Regions from separate parts of the Homo sapiens genome. Here all the other regions are linked to region 1. Evidence: promoter capture Hi-C in human tissues and cell types (Jung and others, 2019). All regions are on one chromosome and are shown on one strand. The core of a region is centred on a gene start or on the middle of the fragment in contact, and the rest is flanking DNA. Distances in the headings are between cores, read along the strand shown.

Region 1 (4,256 bases), core at 654-3,153:
AAGGGATCTAGGTTGTGCACTCCTTATAAGAATCTACTGCCTGATGATCTATCACTGTCTCCCATCACCCCCAGATAGGACCGTCTAGTTGTAGGAAAACAAGCTCAGGTCTTCCACTGATTCTATATTACGGTGAGTTGTATAATTATTTCACTATGTATTGCAATGTAATAATAATAGAATTAAAGTGCACAATAAATGTAATGCACTTGAATCATCCCAGAACCATCTTCCCCACCCCCTGTCTGTGGAAAAAATTATCTTCCAAGAAACTGGTCCCTGGTGCCGAAAAGGTTGGGGACCGCTGGCCTGTAGTATTCAGTATAGTAAAATGCTGTACAGGTTTGAAGCCTAGGAGCAATTGACTATTCCATCCAGCATAGCTGTGTAGTAAGCTATACTATCTGGTTGTGTACAAGTACACCCTATGATGTTCTTACAACTGCATCGCCTAAGGATGCATCTCTTCAACTTCTCACCGTGGTTGAGGGATGCATGACTATATATATTTTCAATTTCCAATCAGCTAGGAATCACATTCCTGTAACTACTTGATTGGATATTTTTGGTTGTTTGTTCACCAGTATAGCAGGCAGGCTTTTAAGAATAATAAATCCATAAATTAGATTAAAATATTGGACCATATTAATGGTTGGTGCTATCAGGAATGGAGACTTACTAGGAAGAGTTTAGCGCATGTTGGAGGAAACTCAGGAAAAAAAAAAGGCCAAAAGTAACACCTGTGAAGTAAGGTGAAAGCGCCTGGAGCTATTTAGCCAGAAATGAGTTGTGGTATAATAACTGTCATAGATATGTATCAGAACATGACTAATTGTTGTTCGTCTTTGCTGAAATCTGAAAAGAAAAAAGTTCAAGGGTAGTTTAAGTGATGTATGTTTAATACTGAGAAGAAGAGCCATGACAGCTGATGGACAGGACATAAGAATGCTTATCATGGGATACATCTCTTGGGAAGAGAAAAAGGGCTTTTACATGTAGCAGTCTTCCCTGTCATGAATGAGGACAGGTCCTGCCTTAAGGCAGAGGGTTTACTAGTTGGCTTCCACAAGGCCCTTCTAGAACTGTAATTCTGAGCCACTTCAGATGCTGAGATTGAACTCGACACAGCCAAGTATCTCCTCTTTTAGGAGCTCCAGCAGTGCCGAGGAGGCAGTGCCACCAGCAGCGACGACAGCATTTATTCCAACTGAAGACTTCACTCAAAGGTGAGTCAGGTCAGTGTGGACCTGGGCGCTTCCTTTTCCTCCAGCTCTCACTGGGTCCAGGCACAGGAGCCCTGAGGGATCGGCGACCACAGTACTCCCTCCCCGGCCACCAATATAAGCTTTGACAGAGGATGGCTGGTTAGCTGGTGTTAGGTGGGAGGGACTCGCCACGGAGACGCGCTCAAGGAGGGATGAGTTGCGCCACCACCACCTAGGTCCCTCTCTCGCTATCCGGCGGGGCCGCCCGGACCCAGGTGCTGCCAGGGTACGCCTGGCGCCCGCCATCCCAGAGCAGCGTCCCGCTGCGCACGGTCTCCCTCCAGCTCCGGTCCCCGCGGGAGGGCGCGTGGGATGATGCGCGGGTCCTTGTGCCTTCCCCAAGCTCCAGCATCCGGAGCCGCCCTAGCCGGCACCGCGGCAGCCACAGCCTGGGAGAGAGAAAGGAAAGAGGGAGGGCGGCGGGAAAGGCTCGGCGCGGGAGGAGGGCGGGTGAGGAGGGAAGGAGCGAGGGGGAGGGAGCCTCTCTCCTCAGCGGTGCAGCTAGTCTCCCTCCAGCGGGCGGCGACTCCGGGTTCCCCCTCGCGCCCTCTCGCAGAGGCTCGCCCCCTTCCCCGCCCACCGTCCCTGCGAGCGCGGGCGGCGGCGGTGGGCGTGTGCGCGCGTGAAGGACGCCGCCTCTCTCTCGCTCCTGCGTTCGCAGGCGGCGGCTGGCGGCCGGCTTCTCGCTCGGGCAGCGGCGGCGGCGGCGGCGGCGGCTTCCGGAGTCCCGCTGCGAAGATGCTCAAAGTCACGGTGCCCTCCTGCTCCGCCTCGTCCTGCTCTTCGGTCACCGCCAGTGCGGCCCCGGGGACCGCGAGCCTCGTCCCGGATTACTGGATCGACGGCTCCAACAGGGATGCGCTGAGCGATTTCTTCGAGGTGGAGTCGGAGCTGGGACGGTAAGGCGCGGGCTCCGGCTGGGGAAGCCCGCGGCGTGCACTGGGGGTTGTCCCTCTCGCAGCGACGGCTCGGAGGGTGCGGGAGCCTGCCTTCGTGCCCTTCGATTTCTCCCTACCTAGTTAGTGTCTTGAGAGAGAGCTAACCTTCATTCAGGTGCGGCTCGAGTCCTTCCCACCCCACCAGAGCGCCTAGGCCGGTGCAGCTGTAGGATCAGCCCGACTCCCTCCCACCTTCCCTCCTTCTCGCAGGCTGCCACTTCCCTTGGGTGACAGCTCCCACCGCACGTGGGCCCTGCTTTCCCAATTGATATCTTTGCTCACGATTATAGCTTGCCAGAGGGTCCTGTTTGTCTAGTTATTGTTTAGGGTGGGGGCCGGAGGGTGCCCCTCCAAATCAAGACAGAATTATTAAGTTAGATTCCTCCTCCTTCCCCTCGTCAAGCTCTCCAAAGCAAGTGACACGAGAAATTAAACTTAAATACTAGCTTCCCTGCAGAGTCTGCTCAGGAGTGAAGGGAGAAATGAATCATTTAAGAGAGTTGAAGGCAGAATAATGAACTAGTGTGGCTTTAAAGAGAAAGCAGCATATGGGATCCAGGCAGTGGTAATTAGTGAGAATGCTGCTGCTTCCCTTCTTTCATGGGCTGGAGTGATTTATTTAAATTATATATGCAACAGACCATCTCCCTAGGATTGCAGATATGTCCCCTATCCCTCCTCTGAAGATCCAAACAGGTAGCAGTTTGGCCTTCTGCATGATTCCATATGCTTTCGTATTTGTATCCATTGAAAATTATAGTTTTCTTTCCCTTACTTCCTTTTTTTTTGTCTTTTCTCTCTGTTATCCATAGGTAAGGAGATTTATTTTCAACACTTATTTTAGATCCAGGCTCTTTAGTATAGGGAATCTGAAGATGTAATTTCAACGGTTGACAAGTTGCAGCTTCTGTACTTACTACTCCTTTGCAATTTCATTTTTCATTCTCTTTTTGCTGGAAATAGTATTGCTAACAGCCTTTTTATTTTTTCAAGTCATTGGAGGATCCAGAGCAGGATTCTGGATGTTGGTATTTAGTGGGAAGATGTAATGATCACTGCCCACTCTCCCCCCACTTTGCTAGTACTATTGAAGGCTCATTGAATATAGATGTGTAAAATAGGCAAACTTCTGAATGAAAATTCAGTGATTTGTCACTGTTAAAAATGTTTTGAAGTATTTGAGCACTGAATAATGTATACATAAACATCCATTTTTGATCAAGTTTTTCAGTATTCATCTGAAGATCTATTATATATATAGGTGGAAATGAAAGGACAATGATGTCGATTTTTGTAAGGTCCAAAACATGCCTGTTATTAATTGTATGATGCGTGACAGTGGAACCATGTAAACCTCTGAGTAAAGGGATGATCTACTTAAAATTGTTTACTGGGTGTTTTATAAACTACTGTGTAGTAGAGGAAGTGCCTGATGCTGCTGCAGGGACTGTCCCAGTAGCACATCTGTTTTCAGAGTAACATTAACCCTAGATGCCTCAAATAGGCTGACTTATCCACACACGTTGTCTTTATGAATAAGCTTCATCGTCATGAAACTCAAGAAATTCACTTTAATTTGAAAAATGGGAAAAAAATAAACTGCCAATTGTATACCCCTATGAGATGGTAGCCTGCATAGGAAAAAACTGAGAAATTTGAAGTTTGGGTTTTTTATTTTTCAGTTCAGAATTACGTGTTGCAGTAAATTTTGGAGGACAAATATTAATCGGTTATACAGAAGCTTCTCAACTTATGATGGTGTTATGTCCCAATAAGCCCACTGTAGTTGAAAATATCAGAAGTTGAAAATGCATTTACTACACCTGTGCTAACAAACGTTGTAGCTTAGCCTAGCCTACCTGAAACATGCTCAGAACACTTAATATTAGCCTACATTTGGGCAAAATCATCTAACATAAAGCCTATTTTATAATAACTGTTAAATACCGTGTACAGATGGGATTTTGTAGACATGGTGAGATATGAAACACAAAACACAATATTCAAAAAACACTGACAACAGAGAACACTCTAGAGTTCCGGTTGTTTACCC
Region 2 (4,256 bases), core at 1,060-3,559, 910 kb after region 1:
GCCATTTTGTGAGCTGTTCTATGCAGAAGTCTACATTGGAATGAATTGATGTCTCCATTCAACAGACAGTGAGGATCTGAGGGTTACCAGCAACCATGTGCATAAGCCTCAAATCAGATCCTCTTCAATTGAGGATCCTACTGACAACTAGATTTCAGCCTTGTGAGGGGCCAGAAGCACCCAGTTAAGCCACATCCAGATTCCTCATCCATTAAAACTATGACATGATAATGTTTATTTTTTACATCACTAAGTTTTGGAGTAATTTGTTACACAGAAATAGATAACTAATAGGCTAGGGAACAAAAAAATCTTAAGCCAATACTATACAATGTAATTTTTTTAAAAAAAATAAGTGGCAAAAATGATAGAACAATTTGGGCAACAAGATAATGTTGGACTAGATTGTAATGCAGAATTAGATTATGGACTGCATCAATATTGATATAAATGTATCAATATTGACTAATATTGATACAAATAAATGATTAAAGAAAAGAAGTGTAGAAAGAAGGAAGAGAGAGGTGGGGAGGGAGGGAGGGAGATAGAGCGTAAGGGAGGGACGGAGGAAAAAAAGAAAGACACCTTTTTTTACAGACAAATTGTAAATAATATATGTGGATATTTTCCCCACACACCCTCTCACAAAGGACATGTAGCTTAACCTCCTAGCTCCTACAGTATGTGCTGGGCTTAAAGACTGGCTTCCAAAGAATTGAGTATGTAAAAGGAAAATACAGGTTGAGTATCCTTTATCTGAAATGCTTCGGAATCTGAAGCGTTTCAGATTTCAGATTTTTTCAAGATTTTAGAATATTTGCATATACATAATGAGATATCTTGCAGATGGGACTTAAATCTAAACACAAATTCATTTGTGTTTTATGTGTACATTATAAACGTAGCGTGAAGGCAACTTTGTACAATATTTTTAGTATTTTCGTGCATGAAACAAAGTTTGTGTACATTGAACCATCAGAAAGCGAAGGTGTCACTACCTCAGCCATCCATGTAGACGATCTGTGGTTGTTTGGCATCATCACCCCTGACTCTAAATTTATATGCCACCAATAAGCAAACATTTTCTCACACTTATTCACATAGTACTTAACAGTAAAAAAATGATATAACATTAATACAGCATAAAACATAATGAGTTCACAATAACTAAGCAGCACAGTAGCATCAACAGAATACCCGTATCCTCTGTTAAACAACAGCAACAACAAACATCGGCAGGCTTTCAATCTCCACCCATGATGCTGTGTTTTGATTAAAAGGTTACTGTGCACTTTTTTTTTTTTTTTTTTTTGGTGAGAAGAAACATCTGAAGTAGCTGACAGACCAGGAAGTGGGTCCTCTGGGGAGAAGGAAGCATTCTGCCGAATGGCTTTTAAAAATGTTTCCTCCAGGCCGGATGCGGGGGCTCACACCTATAATCCCAGCACTTTGGGAGGCCAAGGCATACAGATCATGAGGTCAGGAGTTCGAGACCAGCCTGGCCAATATGGTGAAACCCTGTCTCTACTAAAAATACAAAAATTAGCTGGGCATGGTGGCAGGAGCCTGTAGGTCCAGCTACTCGGGAGGCTGAGGCAGGAGAATCGCTGGAACCTGGGAGGTGGAGCTTGCAGTGAGCCGAGATGGTGCCATTGCAATCCAGCCTGGGCAACAGAGCAAGACTCTGTCTCAAAAAAAAAAAAAAGAAAAAAAAAATGTTTCCTCCAAAGTCATCTGCCTCATTGACAACAGTTTTTGTCTTAAAAGTCTGTCTTTAATTTTATAAACTGACATGATTTCTTATTCTGCAATGAGTGCAGATTGCTCTAGTCCTTCAGTAAGCCCAACATGCATTTTCACCATGTCTATAGGCACTTTTCTGCAGTGTTAACAACATCATCTTCATCAACACTATTATCACAATCACTTTCATTCAGAACCATTTTGGCTATAGTCAATGAGTGAACAACTGGAGCCTCACAATCAATATTAAAAACTTTGATATCCACTTCTTCCAGCTTGCTGATGGACTCTGAAGGTATTTTTTTGCATATGTAAAGAGTTCAGAGATCATTTTTTCTTATTTGACATACAGAATTTTTCAAAGTTGTCACATTGTTCTCCACCACCACTAAACGTAGTCACAGGCCAGAGGTTGCGCCAGGCATATACAACTGTGTCTTTAGTCACTTTGTTCAAAGTGTTGGTAACAGCATATATGGACAGCATCCTTCATGCTAAACTGTTTTTGAAAACCTTCACACACTTGCCTCTGTTCACCACGCTACTATGCTGTTCAAGAAATGTATTTTTCATTGATCTAAGGATGCCCTGGTCATATGGTTGAATTAATAAATTACATTTGGAGAAAAGTACATGGCATAAACAACATTACTTTTGATGAAAATTTTAGCTGAAAGCTGAGCAGAACAGTTGTCAAGGAATAATACTGGCAGTCAACATCCAGTCCAGCTTCCCTACAGTGAGCTTCAGCCACTGGTACAAATTGTTTGTGTAACCAATGAGAAAAGATGTCCCTGATGATCCAGGCTTTTGGTTAGCATAATAATGAACTAGTAAGAAATTGACTCCTTGCAAACAGCAAGGACACAAGCTTTTGCCTACACAGCAAGTGTACATTTATGTGTGTGTGCTGCATTAACACATCCGAGCACAGATATTCTGTTCATGGTATCTTTCATTCCTCTAGGGGCTTTCTCATCAGCTGTAGTCGTTGTCTTTCTGGGTCAATAACATCAAAACAGTGATGTTTCATCAGCATTATAGATTTGTCCTAGTATTAGATTTTCATCAGCAACAACCTTTGGAAACTCGTCAATGAATTTCTCCACTGCTTCATGAGCAGCAGATGTTTTATTACCACAAATCTTTAATGCCAAGTCTTTTCTTCAATGTCTTAAATTTCTGCAACCAGCCTGTTGAATATTTACAGTTCCTTTCAACTTGCAGTTCGTTGTGATAGATCTTTGCTTGTTTCCTGATTACCATACCGCTAAGTGGCACATGTTCACTGCAGTGCTGATGGATTCACTCTGTTCACACATGATCAAGATCTTCATGTTCAGCTTTATGCAGTGTTTTTCTATTTCTCATTAACTTCTGTCCACCACTTTCCACATAGATCTTCAACAGTTTATCCTTCTGTTTCTTAGGTCATATGTGGTGGTCATTGCAATACTATACCCTTCTGTAAAATGTTTCACACTTATACTGCTACCTGGTCTCTTCAACAGCTTGACTTTCTGTGCTATGGATAAGTAAAAATGCTTTCTCTTTTCCTTACCACTGTTGCCCAAGGGGTATAAACAGGCGGTTTTTTTTTTTTTTTTTTGACATTTTCAACAATATCTTCACACCACAGAGCATAGAATAAGCAAAAAAAACACAGTAAGGAATGCACATAAATCTTGGCCTCACATAGGGCATTGGGGGGAACCTGCCAATGGCATGTCTGGCCTGCACATGTGCCATTTTATTACACTTCTTTTGTGTGCTTGCATGGAGGAAACTGGGCATGTACAGAAAATATATATTGCAGCTGAAGAGGGCTCAAGTCTCTTTCTTCCCTTTGGGATGCTGAATAAACTGTGTGTGATGTGATTGCATTTTGACCGGGACCTAGCACATAAGGACAGATATGAAATTTTTCACTTGTGGCATCATATTGGCATTCAAAAATTTCAAATATTGAAGTGTTTTGAATCTTGAATGTTTGGATTAGGGAAAGCTCAACCTATAGTCACTTTCCTGTAAGAAAAACTGGAAAACTCTACCTTATCTAAGTGGTCAAGATTAACATCACCAGTGATAAGTCATGTGGATAGGTATACTATATTCTCTAATATGATGTGATGAGAAGGGCACTTCACCTCTGTGATACTCTCTCCCATAACCCACAGCCTCGTCTAATCATGAGCAAAACAGCAGACAAACCCATAGTGAGGGATATTCTTCAAAATACCTGACCAGTACTGCTTAAGACTATCAAGATCATGGAAAACAAGGAAAGACTAGGAAACTATCACGGACCACAAGGAGACTGTGGAGACATGACAACTAAATGCAATGTACTACCCAGGATTGGATCCTAAAACAGAAAAGGGATATCAGTAGAAAAACTAGTCTTTTCCCTTTTCTCCCTGCATTTTCTCTTCAGTGTGTCTCTTATAAGGATACTTGTCATTGGATTTAAGGCCCACAGTGGACAACCCAAAATAATCTCATATTGAGATTCT
Region 3 (4,256 bases), core at 734-3,233, 540 kb after region 1:
CCGCCTAGGAGCCAGACTGCTTACTCGGCAGGAATCGGCGGCTCTGGGCCCCGTCGGCGAGCGGCCAACAGGCGCGCGCGCCCCGACACCCCGCACCCGCGCCCCGGGCGCCCCGCTCGCCGCGCCGTCCCCACTGCACCGCGCGGCGCCCCGGGGAGACAAAGCGGACCCGCAGCTCTGCGCCCCGGCCCCGCCCCGGGAGCACGGCGCGCGCAAATCCCCGGCCTTCCTCCCCGCCCCCGGCCAGCCTCTCCGCCTCGACGTGCGGTTGCTTTTCAGACAAATAAGGAGGTGGAGGAGGCGGTTTGGGGGCGCGCCAAGCGTGAAGGCGGCCAGGGTGCTGCACAGCCCGGCGGCCCGCCAGGGCCGTGGGGAGAGGCGGCGCGGCCCGTACTGTAATAATAAACCTGCAGCAGAGGGCATCTGAGGAAAAGAGGACGGCGACGGGCGGCAGCCGCCTTCCTTTTATGTGCCTGTCCTGAGCGAAGCAGAAAATGGTGCCTGCGGCGGCGCGGAGCCGCGCTCAGACACACAAAGAGTCCGCGAAGGATGCATTTGCACACGGCCTCGGGTCGGACCCTGCCCCTCAGCTGGGTACGCGCGCCCCACTCCCTTCCGCGGGGAAGCCCGGGGCGGGGAGCGCCCCTGAAGGCCGGGCCCAGAGGTCCTGTGGCTGCGCGTGCACACACACACGTGCACACAGTCACACGCGCACAACCAGCCAGAGCTGCGGCCTGGCGTGATCGGCCCAAGACATACTCCCCTGGTGCTTCCTTCTCCTTCCCTATACGCTCCCCCACTGCCTGCCCGTCTGAAATTGTACTTTTTAAAATCGAGGATTGCTTTAAAAAATAAAGTGCTTTGCCATTTCTGATTTTTGTAAACTCGTCGTTCTTATTTAAAATCTATCTTTTCATAGTAATGTAATAGCTCAAAATTTTGCAACAAACTCAAATAAACTGGTTCTGTTGCCAATAAAGCAGGATATCATTTTATGGTAACTCTCAGATGTCACAGGAGAAGATTATTTCCTAATTAAATTGCCTTTCCAAGAAAAAAAGATATAAAGGATCATAGTGTCTTCTAAATTTGCCATCCACTTTTTCCCCTAATCACTGAAAGCAATGTTTTCCATTGTAACAAAGAAAATAAGGCAAATTTACAAAACTCAATTTTTAAACGTGTTTACAGAATGTCTGATGTTTTAGATTTAACATACTGGGTACAGCAATAGCAAACCTTAAAAAGCAATACTTTACACTCACAATTCTAAAAGAATGCACTGAGTTCTCTGTATGCTTGTTGCTGGGACTATAGGTCACCTTTAAAACTACAAAGCCATTGCCACAACAAATGCCTGTTAGACTGCACTGGGTATGATGTTTAAGGAGCCCACTGAAAGCTTCTCTGAATTAATCTAAAACATCACAGTAATTTTCCTGCAAAAATAAGATGATTTGGCAGCCATAGCTAGGAACAAAGGGAAGAAATATAAAACTCAACAAATTCCCTTGACCCTTTCAGGCCAGTTTACCAGCCAGGGAAGTACTGGAAGGAAGGTGTAAGGCATAGGCTGGGTGGTGGGAGAGGGGAGACGCCTGGGGGCTGATCTGCAAGTCTGGAACCCCAACACGCTGCTCAAGGGCACCTCAACATTGAGATCTTTGGCATTCACCTCAGGGTCAGGCTGGGAAAGGACCCCAAGGGCGCACCATCAAATCAGACTACCAAAAATCTATCCCAGTGATATTTGTTCAAAAGCTGCTTCTACAAGGAAACATACATATAAACACATACATACACAGGGACTTTAACGTTTATGTAAAACTTCCCTAAGATGTTCTTTCACAGAGAAGTGTTAATTTTTCTTTCTTTCTTTCTTTCTTTTTTTTTTTTTAAGAAATGGAGACTTACCATGTTACCATGTTGCCCGGTCTCAAACTCCTGGATTCAGGCAATCCTCACTACGGCCTCCCAAAGTGCTGGGATTACAGGCACAAGCCACCTCTCTTGGCCAATTTTTCTTCATTGTAATGATAGACATTCAGGTGACAGATTTTTAAGTATTAAGAACACTGGGTCAGATTCATAGCTTATTTATCTGTTGTGTTCCAGAAAACGGTTATCATCCAACTATCCAAGAAACATTCTTGAGTCTCCTCTAGGTGAAGGGGGCTGTGCTAATCACTTAAGGATATATGAGAAACTCATGCCATGTCACCTCACTCAAACTGTAGCTATAGCTGTCTCACAGTCCTCCTAGCTGCCATGTTCTGCCCTCTTCCATCTATCCTGTAGGTGTTACAGTAGACCCACTCTTCTAAAATTTCTTTTTAATCATGGTATCCCCTGCTCCATTACGGGATAAAGGCCATATTTTGCCACAGTGTGACTATAGTCTGACTTTCTAACCTTATCATCTCTCTCTCAATCATAGAATATCAGTCCTTCACTTCACTCTGATTGATCATTTAGGGCACATAATTATCCCTAAGCCATTACCAGTCAGGAAGCAAAGTCACGCAAAGATTGACTTCAGCTAAGATGTCTCAACCCTTCAGTTATATTGACATTTGGGACAAGATAATTTTTTGACGGGGTGAGGATGGAGGGTGAGGCTGTCCTGTGCATAGTATAATGTTTAACAACATCTCTGGCCTCTACCCATCAGATGCCTGTAGGAAACGCCAGTTGTCACAACCAGATATGTATCCAGACACTACCAAATGTTCCAAGGGGTCAGGGAGACTCATCCTTGATTGAGAACCACTAGCTCTAACAATCAGATCCATCTCCTGAGGTGGAAAGAGGTAGCCTCCCTTGAGTTATGTGCACTGCATTGAAGAGGGACAGAGACCTGACCCAAATCAGGATTTTCGTAGGGAGGAGGAAAGGGAAGTAGGCGATGTCCTTATCTTCATGGAATTTGTCGTCTGGGGTGAAGGGGTAAAGAGACAGCCAAAGCCAAAGTGAAGGTGCAGTGTGATAAGGATGATTGTAGAGTTCTTGCACAGGTTTCACTGTGGATGCCAGGGCTCCTTTCTAAATCAGACCAGCAGTTCAAAGAAAGTTTGCTAAGGGAGGTGAGGCCTAAACTGAATTTGTGAAGAATGAGAAAGAGTCAGCAAGTTGAAGGAGGAAAGGGGCCTTCTGAGCAGAGGCAGGGGCAGATCATGAGCTAAGAAATTTGACTGATGACTGATGACATCCAGATGGTATAAGAAAATAAAAACCCTGGGTCAGAACCTGATTCTTGGGTTCTGTCCCTGGCAAGTATGCCAAAGAATAGTCCCTCACAGGATTTGCTCAGTAGAAAAGGATGTACTTTAGACACAGGATTTTTCTTCTCCCTTAGATATGTCATTCTCAAGTATTTCCTGATTATAGCTAAATGTATCTCAAATCTATATATTCCTGCAACTTTATTAATTTTTGGTCAATGTCATTGCTTGGGGTAACCAGTTCCATGAGTCTGAGTTCCAGGTGAAAGGTTAGTAGAAAAGTGGTTAGAGCCAGCTCTATGTGGCCTTGGATAAGTCATTTAACCTTTTAGTCTCAGTTTATTCATCTTTCAGTTGGAGTTCATACCATAGTGCCAAATTGTTGTATTATGTGAGACTGTGTACAGTGTTTAGCATATAAGTTAACATTACATATACAGTAGCAATAGGTATTATAGACTGCTTTATAGAACAAAACTTATATGATGTTTCCTGATGGATCCCACCTCTCCTTCTGGCCTCATGTCTTGTCCTCTCTGGTCAGATTGAATGAGGGCACTTTTGCAGTGAGTTACACTGTTGCACAACCCTTGAGCCTTTCCACATGCTATTCCTCCTGCTGGAAGGCCCCTTTCCCACTTCTTCAATTTGCTAATTCCTGCTCCTTCTTCTCACATTCAGTTTAGGCATCACCACCTTTTTAAGAAATGTTCTTTGAACTGCTGATCTCATTTAGAAAGGAGTCTTTGTGGTCACAGTGCACCAGGTACAGAACTCTACACTTGTCCTTACCACTCTACACCTGAACTTGGACTTTATTTTTCTGTCTTCACCACTAGACTATAAATTCCATGAAGGAACAGATCGCAGGATACATTGTTGATCGCATATGTAACATCCATTATCCCTTTCTTCCTTCTCAACGAAATCTTGATTTTTGTCCTGGTCTCCATCCCTCCCATACAGCCTGCTAGATCCAGGGAAGGTGACGCCAAGGAATAGATTCTAATTATCTTAGCCAATCAGTGTATTGAA

The links. The method cuts DNA at HindIII sites, captures the fragments that hold promoters and counts their contacts. A contact is called where the count stands out against the background at its distance.
Region 2: a fragment that was not itself captured here is called in contact with the fragment with the promoter of CAMK4 in region 1 in 1 of the 25 tissues and cell types used here (mesenchymal stem cells).
Region 3: a contact is called between a fragment that was not itself captured here and the fragment with the promoter of CAMK4 in region 1, in 1 of the 25 tissues and cell types used here (dorsolateral prefrontal cortex).

Annotation. Positions count from the first base shown.
Region 1 is chr5:111,222,481-111,226,736 of GRCh38, forward strand. CAMK4 (calcium/calmodulin dependent protein kinase IV) reads left to right here and starts at 1,904. Exons shown (of 11, transcript NM_001744.6): 1 at 1,904-2,164. The coding sequence starts at 2,004. RefSeq lists enhancers at 1,033-1,132, 2,093-2,142 and a silencer at 1,493-1,982. The HindIII fragment of the contact is 2,937 bases long and covers 1-2,544 here.
Region 2 is chr5:112,135,681-112,139,936 of GRCh38, forward strand. No RefSeq gene overlaps it. Among named protein-coding and RNA genes, the nearest start is that of EPB41L4A-AS1, 23 kb to the right of the region's middle. The HindIII fragment of the contact is 3,115 bases long and covers 753-3,867 here.
Region 3 is chr5:111,757,538-111,761,793 of GRCh38, forward strand. It overlaps a transcript of NREP not described here. Among named protein-coding and RNA genes, the nearest start is that of NREP, 2.5 kb to the left of the region's middle. RefSeq lists silencers at 8-407, 428-787. The HindIII fragment of the contact is 7,107 bases long and covers 1-4,256 here.